2 separate regions of the Homo sapiens genome follow, and region 2 is linked to region 1. The links are contacts of gene promoters, found by promoter capture Hi-C in blood cells and fetal thymus (Javierre and others, 2016). All regions are on one chromosome and are shown on one strand. Each heading gives the region's core, a stretch centred on a gene start or on the middle of the fragment in contact. The rest is flanking DNA. Distances are from core to core; before and after follow the strand shown. Region 1 holds the start of CDKN2B-AS1 (CDKN2B and CDKN2A antisense cis and trans regulatory RNA 1). Region 2 has its middle 120 kb from the start of CDKN2B.

Region 1 (5,771 bases), core at 1-2,500:
CCACTTCTTCAACTAGGCCACTAGGCCCAAGCGCATGAACAGGAAGCCACTGAGAAGCGGGCCACATTTCCAGGTTCCCGGAGCTGGGCCTAGTCCCGAATCCTCTGGCACACACCCACCCACTCAGGCCGCGGGTCCAGCCCGCGAGGTTTAGGACGGATCCAGGCAGACCGCAGGCTCCGGGTCGGGGCACCGGGTCAGCGCGCCGGCCTGAAGGCGGCGTCCTGGGCTCGACTTCCCGCGCGCGGAGAGCCGGCGAGCCCGCGTCCGAGTTCCTGGACGAGAGCCGAGCCTCGCTTAGACCGCGCTCAGGACCCGGCTCCTCCGCATTCTCCGGCTGCCCCTGTGTCCTCGACTCACCCCTCCTTTCTGCCGCTCCTTCCTTTCCTTGCCCTGCTTTTACTGTTCCCAAACAGGACCGCTTTTCCTGTCTCCCAGCTGGAAAGGAGGAAGGGAGAGAGTCCAGAAAGGATCGGTGATGTGGAAGAAAAGGGGAGGAGGGGACATGGAGGGGGAGACCGGAGAGAGAACGTACGCCGAGGAGTCAGGCGGCGGGATCAAGGGGAGTCGGGGTGTCTGGGCGCGGGGCAGAGCGTGGAGGCGGCAGCGGCCAACGGTCGCCAAGACAACCATTCTACGCGAGGACGCGGCGACAGGAGGGGAGCGGCCAGCAGGGGAGGGGAGCGCGGGGGAAGAGGAAAGAGGAAGAAGCGCTCAGATGCTCCGCGGCTGTCGTGAAGGTTAAAACCGAAAATAAAAATGGGCTAGACACAAAGGACTCGGTGCTTGTCCCAGCCAGGCGCCCTCGGCGACGCGGGCAGCTGGGAGGGGAATGGGCGCCCGGACCCAGCTGGGACCCCCGGGTGCGACTCCACCTACCTAGTCCGGCGCCAGGCCGGGTCGACAGCTCCGGCAGCGCCAGCGCCGCGCCGTGTCCAGATGTCGCGTCAGAGGCGTGCAGCGGTTTAGTTTAATTTCGCTTGTTTTCCAAATCTAGAAGAGGAGCGGAGCGGCTTTTAGTTCAAAACTGACATTCAGCCTCCTGATTGGCGGATAGAGCAATGAGATGACCTCGCTTTCCTTTCTTCCTTTTTCATTTTTAAATAATCTAGTTTGAAGAATGGAAGACTTTCGACGAGGGGAGCCAGGAATAAAATAAGGGGAATAGGGGAGCGGGGACGCGAGCAGCACCAGAATCCGCGGGAGCGCGGCTGTTCCTGGTAGGGCCGTGTCAGGTGACGGATGTAGCTAGGGGGCGAGCTGCCTGGAGTTGCGTTCCAGGCGTCCGGCCCCTGGGCCGTCACCGCGGGGCGCCCGCGCTGAGGGTGGGAAGATGGTGGTGGGGGTGGGGGCGCACACAGGGCGGGAAAGTGGCGGTAGGCGGGAGGGAGAGGAACGCGGGCCCTGAGCCGCCCGCGCGCGCGCCTCCCTACGGGCGCCTCCGGCAGCCCTTCCCGCGTGCGCAGGGCTCAGAGCCGTTCCGAGATCTTGGAGGTCCGGGTGGGAGTGGGGGTGGGGTGGGGGTGGGGGTGAAGGTGGGGGGCGGGCGCGCTCAGGGAAGGCGGGTGCGCGCCTGCGGGGCGGAGATGGGCAGGGGGCGGTGCGTGGGTCCCAGTCTGCAGTTAAGGGGGCAGGAGTGGCGCTGCTCACCTCTGGTGCCAAAGGGCGGCGCAGCGGCTGCCGAGCTCGGCCCTGGAGGCGGCGAGAACATGGTGCGCAGGTTCTTGGTGACCCTCCGGATTCGGCGCGCGTGCGGCCCGCCGCGAGTGAGGGTTTTCGTGGTTCACATCCCGCGGCTCACGGGGGAGTGGGCAGCGCCAGGGGCGCCCGCCGCTGTGGCCCTCGTGCTGATGCTACTGAGGAGCCAGCGTCTAGGGCAGCAGCCGCTTCCTAGAAGACCAGGTAGGAAAGGCCCTCGAAAAGTCCGGGGCGCATTCGGCACTTGTTTTGTTTGGTGTGATTTCGTAAACAGATAATTCGTCTCTAGCCCAGGCTAGGAGGAGGAGGAGATAACCGCCGGTGGAGGCTTCCCCATTCGGGTTACAACGACTTAGACATGTGGTTCTCGCAGTACCATTGAACCTGGACCTCCCTTCACACAGCCCCTCAATCGTGGGAAACTGAGGCGAACAGAGCTTCTAAACCCACCTCAGAAGTCAGTGAGTCCCGAATATCCTGGGTGGGAATGACTAAGACACACACACACACACACACACACACACACACACACACACACACACAGTAGGAAAGGTGTATTTCAAGCACACTTTCTTTCTCCTTGGGGAGAATTATTGCTAACCATCTAAGTTTTCTGGAGGCGGCCTTTTTTCTCCCCAGCCTCCCGGCGGGGTCACCCTCTCCCACCTTCCAGGAGAGTGGAGGACCCGTGAGATACGGGGCACGCAGGCAGCGACTTCCTGAAATGCTAACAAGGATCGTAGGATCAGTTACTGCTGCGAGGAGCAAGCACTTGCTTCTTGGGGGAGTTTTGCAGCCAACAGGGAAATGGGCTTTCTTTGTGAGTTAGAGGTAGAGGTCCGGCGGCCTGAGTGATTGAAACTGCTCGGGACAATGCTCGTATGTTTAGCAAACGACAGAACTGTAGAACTGTTCCTGAGAAATCCCAACTGATAGTATTTTAGTCATCTCAGACGACAGTTAGCACAGTTTAAAAATGAGGCCTACTTCTTGAAAAACAGAATCCAAGGTAGTTTTGTCCTCACATTGACAAATGTTGACACAGCCAGTGTAATTTCCTATAACCAGGAAAACTGAAAGAATATATGTACAGTTAAAATATGTACAATGCTAATTAAAACTTGTGTAATAAGTCTAAAAGTAATTTAATGAGGCTTCACTTTTATGACCGTCCTTGTGGTATGCTTCGCCAGGAATATATAGCTTCAAAAAGCAAAGGCCAGCGGAGGGGTAATTATTTTTTTACTGCAATGTTAATTGTCTCTTTGACATGGAAATATAAACCTGTTAAAACTATCAGTGTTTAATTTAGTGTCTCAATTTCTATTAGCAAAAATTTATAATCTATAGGATAAATGCACATTTTATTTTTTACTTTTCATATTATGCAAGTTAATTTTTTTAATTTAGTCAAAGGAGCTTATAAAGGATTTCAGGGCCTGTTGCTGGATTTGATTTTAATTCATTTTGAAACATTGACAAGACCCTGGTTGTTGTTTTTTTTAACAGTGGTTTATCCGTATCAGCAAAAGTTTAGCCACTGTGACCGGTAACTGTATGAATATAGTTCTTAATATTATTGTCTATATAAAAATATTTATTACTCTAGTTAATATTATTCTATATAAAATCATTTTGTTTAAATTATTAAGTTGCCTCTGAAAATCTGTAGTAACAAAGTAGAACATGTCAATGTATATAAATGCCATAATTATGTATTTTTTAGTTTAGGCCTATAAAACATAACATTGTGGTGATTTTAAGTTAGAGAAAATATTTTATAGTATGTTAATGTATATGCATGAAATGCAAAAATATTTAAATGATAGGTTCATTGAAATAGATCATTTTTTGTTATTTAGGTATAAATCAATTTTCAGGACGTATGTGAAAAGCGCAATCTTCAGGAAGTTTCTCAAGATAGAACACAGCTTGGATAGAATGTCTTGAAATATATGCAATTTTCCAATTTCATATGTAAAATGATATACATAATATAAAATCTAGCGGTGTTAATTATAATGATATGTAATTATATATTTCACATTAATATATTTTATGCCCATGGCTATATTGATTTGGGAATATATATGGATACTAATTATGTTAGGATTCATACAATTCCTTGAGAGGCACAAGTGCTAAAAATTACTTGTATGAATTATTTAATATCATTGCAAATAAGATGTTATTTTAACTTTTTTTAAGTTTCTGCAAATATGTTTATTATGACTTTTTATTTTTATATGATTGGAAATACATATACTAAAATTCCACGTTACCAGTTTCTTAACCACAGAAACCTGAAAAATTGCCATAGTTGATTTGTTACTTCTACCTTGGTGCATTTACAAAATAGTCATATTTTTATTATGAAGTTAAATATTCATTTGTTTATAGCTACTTCAGAAGGCTCAGGTTATTTTTTTCTTTAATAGCACAGAGTCCTCTCAAGGTAAGCACTGTGCAGTTAGTATAAACCATTATTCCCCATGTGTACATGATTCACAGTTTGTATTGTGTTCCAAGTGAACCATAGCCCTTTCAGAAATCAAGACTTATATTCATTTTACTTCTTTGAGTACTCTTGAATTTTAGAAAGTCCATTATGATCCTAAGGTAGCAACAACATAGCCTATTACCGTCTATGATGGTTTACAGATCTATTATTCCACGTTAGTTCATCACTATCAACTACCATGATAGAGTTAAGCTAAACCATTTTCCCAACATATGAAAAACTCCTATTACTAAAGTGATACAAATGGTATCAAAAATACTTTTTTATAGCAAGGTTCAACAGTGGGCCCAGTGCTTTTACACTTTTTCAAAAGTCCTTGGAGAAACAGAGAAAATCTCACTTGCCTTCTGTACTAAAACATTCTAGGCCGAACTAAAACTGAAACTTCATAGTAGAACACTGTAGGCCAGGGGTGTTCAATCTTTTACCTTCCCTGGGCCACATAGGAAGAAGAAGAATTGTCTTGGGACACACATTAAATACACTAACACTAACAATAGCTGATGAGCTTAAAAAAAAAAAAAAACTCATGATACTTTAAGAAAGTGTATGAATTTGTGTTGGGCAGCATTCAAAACCATCCTGGGCTGCATGTGACCCTCGGGCCCACAGGTTGGACAAGCTTGCCCTAGCTCCTCCATCTGCTGCAAAGCCCAGCCTGATACAAAAACCAACGTGATAAAAAGTTTTTGTGGTGCTTTATTTTGGCAGTTTAAGTTATATAAACAATGGGTACAGTTTCATTTTCTAAATATAAAATTTTTACATTGAATATGAATTTTTAAGACAAATTATCTGAATTCTGATTCTCATATACCTAACTACTAATATCTTCTCTATTTGTTGCCCAATGAGATTAATCCACCTCTTAAACACTTCACCATCAAGAAAAACAATTTTGTATTTTAAAATGAACCCATCCACTTTCATTCAGCTATTTTATATTCAGGCATCATCCTAAGGAAAGAAAGGTTCTGACAAAGATTAATACAGATGGATAAGTAGTAGCAAGAAATCAAAAACTGCATAAAATTCTAGCAATAAAGTGTTAAATTATGGTACAGTTACATTCTGGATCATCAGGTATCTGAAGAATATTTCATAGACTGTTAAATGATTGCATTATAAAGTCAGGTTTTTTTAAAGCAAGATTCCAAACAGTAAACAGTTTCTCTCTCTCTCTCTCTCTCTCTCTCTCTCTCTCTCTCTCACCAAATTAGTTATAATGGTTTCCGCAGGATGAGAGGGGTTGGGAAAAAGTTTGGTGATATTTATTTTCTTCGTTTCACTTTTGAGTTTTCCAAAGTGCTATGACCATCATCAGTAAAATATACATTTCCAAAGCCTTTGACACACGGTAACAGTCCTACACAGTGGATGAACTAAGAGCTTCTCTACCCTTAGATGGGTAGGGAGGGAGGAAAGACAAGGAAACTGAGTTGTTTAAGTGTCATACACGAGAACGTGGCTTTAAGGTCTGGGAAAACCTGCGAGGGCTGTGACGTCAGACTGTGAAATGCACGCTATGTCCATTCACCAAGACGTTCCATTT
Region 2 (6,260 bases), core at 3,363-5,862, 140 kb before region 1:
CTCAATACAGTGCTAGTAGATAGTGAACACACAATAAGTATCACTAATTATTATTTTTGTTTATATGTATTATTTCACCAACAGAGAGGCACTTCTGTTTAGTACAAAGGCAATATATTTTATATTATTTTGTATCATTCTGCAAGTATGATGACTGCACTGTTTCAACTAAAATCAGGACAAATGACCTGGCAAATCACAGGCATTTACATGGCAAAGAAACAGAAGCACTGAAATAAAAAACAGTGCCAGGTAATCAGGATGGGAAAATCACTGTGCTTTGCTTTTCTAATAGAGTGAGTTTTCAGATAAGAGTATGCCAGAAACCTGGCATACAAGTTAAGGGGCAGGATTCTGAATTTATGGACAAGTTCAGACAAGTATTTTCTCTTTCTGTGTGGGATGCATGAATACAGGCACCTGTGCAGTATACTAGGTTAGTGCTCTTAAGGAAAACCTCATCTTTTTTTTTTTTTTTGAGATGGAGCTTCACTCTTGTCGCCCAGGCTAGAATGCAGTGGCCCAATCTCAGTTCACTTCAACCTCCGGCTCCCAGATTCAAGCAATCCTCTTGCCTCAGCCTCCTGAGTAGCTGGATTTACAGGTGCCGCCACCACGCCCAACTAATTTTTGTAGAGATGGGGTTTCACCTTATTGGCCAAGCTGGTCTCAAACTCCTGACCTCAGGTGATCCACCCACCTTGGTTTCCCAAAGCGCTGGGATCATAGGCGTGAGCCACTGCACCCGACTGGAAAACCTTATATTTACTTCCCAAAATTTGTTCTGAGAATATCAGTAAAGTCAAAAACCTTCCCCATCCTGGGTAGGAGGAGCCAGAAGACAGATCAGGAGGGTAATAGACTTACTGTCATGAGAAAACTAAAGCTGGAGGTGAGCTGCTGACAGGGCAAGAACGCTTATTGACAAAGAAAATGGGCCGGAAAGGTTATGGTGTTCTAATGTCTTCATTAGACAGAACTGATAAGTGCTTTCAAGTCTGTTAACAGGATTATTTTGGAAAATCCCAGCTTAACTCTTAGAATTTCATCTGCTTAACTGAAACTTTGTCAATATTGTACATTTTTGTTTATATTAAGTAAGGACTAAAACCTTTTGAAACCCTGCCAATAAGTAATATGAAAGACAGAGAGGTGGCTGAAGGTTGGTAGAACAAGAAAACAGCTCCAACAGGATCTGTTCACGATAGAATGGCTCCTTTAAAGAGAATAGCCAGAATAGACACACCTCTAGACAAATGTAAGTACAATACATTCCAAAGTCAAATACAAATGCTTTTTATTATCTTACATCTTTTATAATCCATGCCCCTGTTCCAAAGAATTTATGCAGATAATTGAAAAATAACAAATTTCTTTCCTTGAACCTCTGTTTCTCACAGAGCTGTAATACCTAGGGCAGATGCTCCATGTGGCAAAGGACAACTGTGGCTCTCAGATAATCCAGTGGTCTTATCCTTATGGTTATTCCCTTTTACTGCTCTTCCCTACATTGAATGGAACCAATACACATTCACTCATGGGAATAGAATGGCTCCCAATAGTCGTTTATTTTCATGCTCCTAATCTTCACAGTCTTCACACTCTTCCACTGACTTTGCTTTATTTCCAAGGTGAAATATTTATATACCTACTTTATCTTATTTTAATAACTGATTTATTGTTGCGTCTCATATTGTGTTTTTAAAAATGTCACTGCCGACAACGCTTTAGATTTTGTATTGGAAGAAAAAAACAACCATCTTATACTGATGTAGAACTACAGCCTAAAAGGTAAAAATCATGTGGCCCATTATGTACTCACCACCAAATACATACAAACTATACTTTATGTCAACATTAGACAGAACATAAAATTAGAAATTATTGAAGCCAGATTTAAGTATTCAGTTGTTCATTATACTATTTTCTCTACTTAATGTATGCTTGAAATTTTCCATCATAAAAAATTAAGAAAAAAAAGTGCTCTGGCCGGGCGTGGTGGCTCACGCCTGTAATCCCAGCACTTCAGGAGGCCAAGGTGGGCGGATCACGAGGTCAGGAGTTCGAGACCAGCCTGACCAACATGGTGAAACCCCATCTCTACTAAAAATACAAAAATTAGCCGGCCATGGTGGCGTGCACCTATAATCCCAGAGGCTGAGGCAGGAGAATGGCTTGAACCTGGGAGGCGGAGGTTGCAGTGAGCCGAGATCATGCCATTGCACTCCAGCCTGGGTGATAGAGCTAGACTCCATCTCAAAAATAAATAAATAAATAAATAAGTGCTCTAGGTGATATATTTTGATTTTAGATAACACCAGAGAGCATCTTAGGCATATTAGAGCTTCAGGGTTCCTCTCTTCAACCTTGGGAAGCTCCTGGGAGGAAGAAGGTGTTTGTTTTTAGTATGAGTTACTTCAGAGAGAAAGTGCCCAATTTTCTCATACAGGTGGTCCAGACATGAAATGCAATACATTCGATTTTTCTTTTATTTTCTCTCTCTCTTTTTTTTTTTTTTTTTTTTTTTTTGAGATGGGGTCTGTCTATCACCCAGGCTGGAGTGCAGTTGTGTGCTCATAACTCACTGCAGCCTTGAACTTCTGGGCTCAAGTGATCCTCTGGCCTCAACCTCCCAAGCAGCTGGGATTGCAGGTGCAAGCCACTATGCCTAGTACATTTATTTTTTAAACTAGATGGATGCAGGGTAATGAAAAGTACGGAGGCTTTGGTGTTGGACAGACTAAATTCAAATCCTGCTGTCTGCACCACTGGAGGTAAATTACTAATTCATCTATCTTTTTATCCATTGTAAAGTTAATATCAGCTTCACAAAGTTATTATAAGTAATGTGCATAATGATAAATCTTGAAACTAGTAGATGCTCAATTCATGTGGACTTCCTTCCTGTCACAGTTTTAGTTGCTAATCACATAACATTAAGAAACCCCAAAGACTTTCTAGATATAACTCTGGAAGCTTTTTTAGTTCCCCAGCCAGTAACAGCTTGGCATATCTAAAGCTACTTTACATTATTAATAGGACTATTAATAGATAAGAAACATGTCTTTAGACAGATTAGCTACTAGATAGTACAGTATACTAGGAAAGACAATAAACTCTTTGTTATGAATGTGAATTCTCATTTCTACTCTCTCATTAAGAAACTGTTGCCTTGGCCGGGCGCGGTGGCTCACGCCTGTTATCCCAGCACTTTGGGAGGCCAAGGCGGGCGGATCACGAGGTCAGGAGATCCAGACCATCCTGGCTAACACGGTGAAACGCCGTCTCTACTAAAAATACGAAAAATTAGCCAGGCGTAGTGGCAGGCGCCTGCAGTCCCAGCTACTCGGGAGGCTGAGGCAGGAGAATGGCTTAAACCCGGGAGGTGGAGCTTGCAGTGAGTCGAGATGGCGCCACTGCACTCCAGCCTGGGCGGCAGAGCCAGACTCCTTCTCAAAAAAAAAAAAAAAAAAAAAGAAAAGAAAAAAGAAAAAGAAGAAGCTGTTGCCTTTAAAAGGGACATCTAATCATTTTATGTTTATGAAGAAGAAATCTTTCTGAAGTAATTTTAAATTCTTTACTTTCTAAAACATAGAGAATGATAAACATAGAGGTTGACTAAGATATATGAAAGTAACAATTTGATATGTCACTATATCAAATGGAGACAGATCAGTTTGGTTTACGTCAGATATGAAAACTATCCTTATTAGATTTTGACAATATAAAATACTATACAAATAGAAGGTTTTGACTCTGAATCAAATGGCCTTAGCCAGAGCTCACTGAAAATAGTTGTGTTGTATGATTATTATTGTTTTTATTATGATGAAAGCAAGGATTGTGAATTTAATGCAACAAGTAGCTGCAAATTAATTGAAGCCCAGCATACAGTGTGTGATCTCAGGTGTCAGAGACACTAGACACGTGGCTGGCCCTGCCCTTAACCATAGCCTTTGCAAGTTATTTCACATTTCAGAACCCCAGTTGCCTCTTCTATAAAATAAGACATCTCTATCTCTCAAACTTGTTTAAAAATTAAATGATAATATGCTGGTAAAATATTCCTGGCATTTAGTAAGTGCTTAAGAATCAATTTTCTGCATGAATTTCCACTTTTAGAATATCTTACCAGCTTTTTATGAATAATGCTGATTTTTCTTCAGTTAAAATTCAAATTTTTACTTTTCATGTTTATGAGTTACACATCATTGTCTGTGTATGTGCATGTGATCACACATTTATATTTAAAAACAACAACAACAACAGTCAAATCTTAACAAAATAGCAAGAGGATGGTGTTGAATATGGCTAAATAGTCCGTATGGATGCAACATGAGATGCAGGAATAGCCTAAAAGGCTTCAAGGACTGTATAAGTCTTAGGAGGACACTGATTTTTTTTTTTTCCCATCAAAAGCCACAAATGTGGCTCTAAAGCATTTCCCATTACACCCTGAGTTACAAACAACTTGTGCAGGCACATTGGCTGAGGCAATTTGGAAATCACTCTTGAATAACAGAGGAATCACACCTCTGGAATATTTCTAGAGAATTCAAAGCTAAGAAGATAGATAGCCTGCACAATACATATACATACAGTTTAGAGTCTGCACTTGAGATGCTAGACTTTGAACAATTGCAGAAGGAGACAGAATTCTCTTTAAGTGGAAAATCAGCTTTAATTTAAGAAAGGGACCAATAAAACCTGGACAATGCAGGATGTGACCCAGTGCTCTGACACTGACACAGACAAACAGGTGACTCAACACCCGAATGATAGAAAGAAACAAAAACACAAAGTGAACAACCTAGATCGAGCACTTCCCCAGACCACATTTATCATAAAACTAATGGGTTGGAGTAAAGTACAGGCTGCTGTTACTATCTAAAGCATCCTTTGGTTTTGTTACATGCAAATTACATGTGCAGCTACACATTTTTTTCATTGTTTATACTGAGTTTTTCTCAAAGATGACCTGCAGTTTTGTCTAACGTTATACCAATCAATACAGAGAAACAACACCAATAACAGAAGATGCCAAGAGTAGGCCTTAATCCTATTTGAGACACCACGTCTTATGCATATACTCCAAGTATTGACTCTAGCTATTGCAATTTTCAGGACTCTCACTACGAGATGGAATTTAGAACACTTGTGGATGTTGACTTTCTTTATTTAGAGGCTCAATATAATTGGTGCTCCCAGAGCAGAAGAAATACATGGGCTTTATTTGTTTAGTAAGAAAAAATTTTTACTGTCCCCATGCCAAATTGAAAGAACAAATTACCTGCCTTTATACTTTATCTGTCTCATAAGTCTTCCTCAATGTTCAACCCCTTATTTTTCTTCTTCCCTTGTATTCTCACAGTTACTTTTCCCAAAAGTTGTTCTTCTTTTCCTCACCTTATGTCAACAAGGAAATCATTTAACTGATGAGACTACTTGCCCAGTTTACATTTCTTTTCTAAAGACAGACTTTCCCCCACAATGAAATCCCTGCCAGGAAGACAACTCCACAACTACCACCACCACTCCATCACCCCCACCTTCTTATCCTTGGAGTGAGAAAACCCAGACATTTATCTGGAGTTAAAAGTGTCCTTGCCTGAGAAAGTATGAACCTCCGAGACAAGAGAGGAAATGCTGTAGACAATAGCAGAAGCTGCAAAATCCACAAATGCTAAACTTCACACCACACCCATTGGTGGAATCTGTTACCAGCAACACTCATTGCTGTAAGCACCATTATTTATTAGGGATAAAAAAGAAAAATTATCTGTTTTTAAAGTCAGCTCAGCTCCAATTATCATACATATGAAAGTAGAATATCTTTGCTTTTCTGAGCTAGAAACTAGACAGGGAAGCCCTTCGCTTTCTAAACTTTCTCTTCTCATGTACCCTGAGCACAATTTCTCTCCTGAAACCCCAAGATTAACTGGAGTAATTCCAGACCAAACTGTGAACTAATAACAGCAGGGAACACGATGATAAACAGAGGGAACACTGCTTGGAAATTTTATCAAAATTCTCTAATAATTATATCTACAAATGAAATCTTAGTGTTTAGTCTTATAATTAGAAAAGGAAGCCTGACTAAACAACAGGAAGTGTTTAACATCTAACCTAGGTAAAATAATGAAAAGAATAAAGAAGAATAAGGAAAAAGAACAATGAAAGTACCAGGCATACTCCACATCCTCTGGAGATCCCTGCTTCCTTACTTGTCTCCCCATAAGTGAAGCTTATCTCCCCATTAG

What was found. The method cuts DNA at HindIII sites, captures the fragments that hold promoters and counts their contacts. A CHiCAGO score of 5 or more calls a contact.
Region 2: a fragment that was not itself captured here is called in contact with the fragment with the promoter of CDKN2B-AS1 in region 1 in 1 of 17 cell types (M2 macrophages); the score reaches 5.1 in M2 macrophages.

Annotation. Positions count from the first base shown.
Region 1 is chr9:21,990,270-21,996,040 of GRCh38, reverse strand. It overlaps CDKN2B-AS1 (CDKN2B and CDKN2A antisense cis and trans regulatory RNA 1), which reads right to left and starts at 1,250. Exons shown (of 19, transcript NR_003529.4): 1 at 880-1,250. LOC124902130 (a long non-coding RNA gene) reads left to right here and starts at 2,013. Exons shown (of 2, transcript XR_007061436.1): 1 at 2,013-2,155; 2 at 3,561-5,771. It also overlaps a transcript of CDKN2A not described here. RefSeq lists silencers at 797-996, 1,317-1,576. The HindIII fragment of the contact is 17,311 bases long and covers 1-4,843 here.
Region 2 is chr9:22,128,710-22,134,969 of GRCh38, reverse strand. No RefSeq gene overlaps it. Among named protein-coding and RNA genes, the nearest start is that of CDKN2B, 120 kb to the right of the region's middle. The HindIII fragment of the contact is 3,268 bases long and covers 2,979-6,246 here.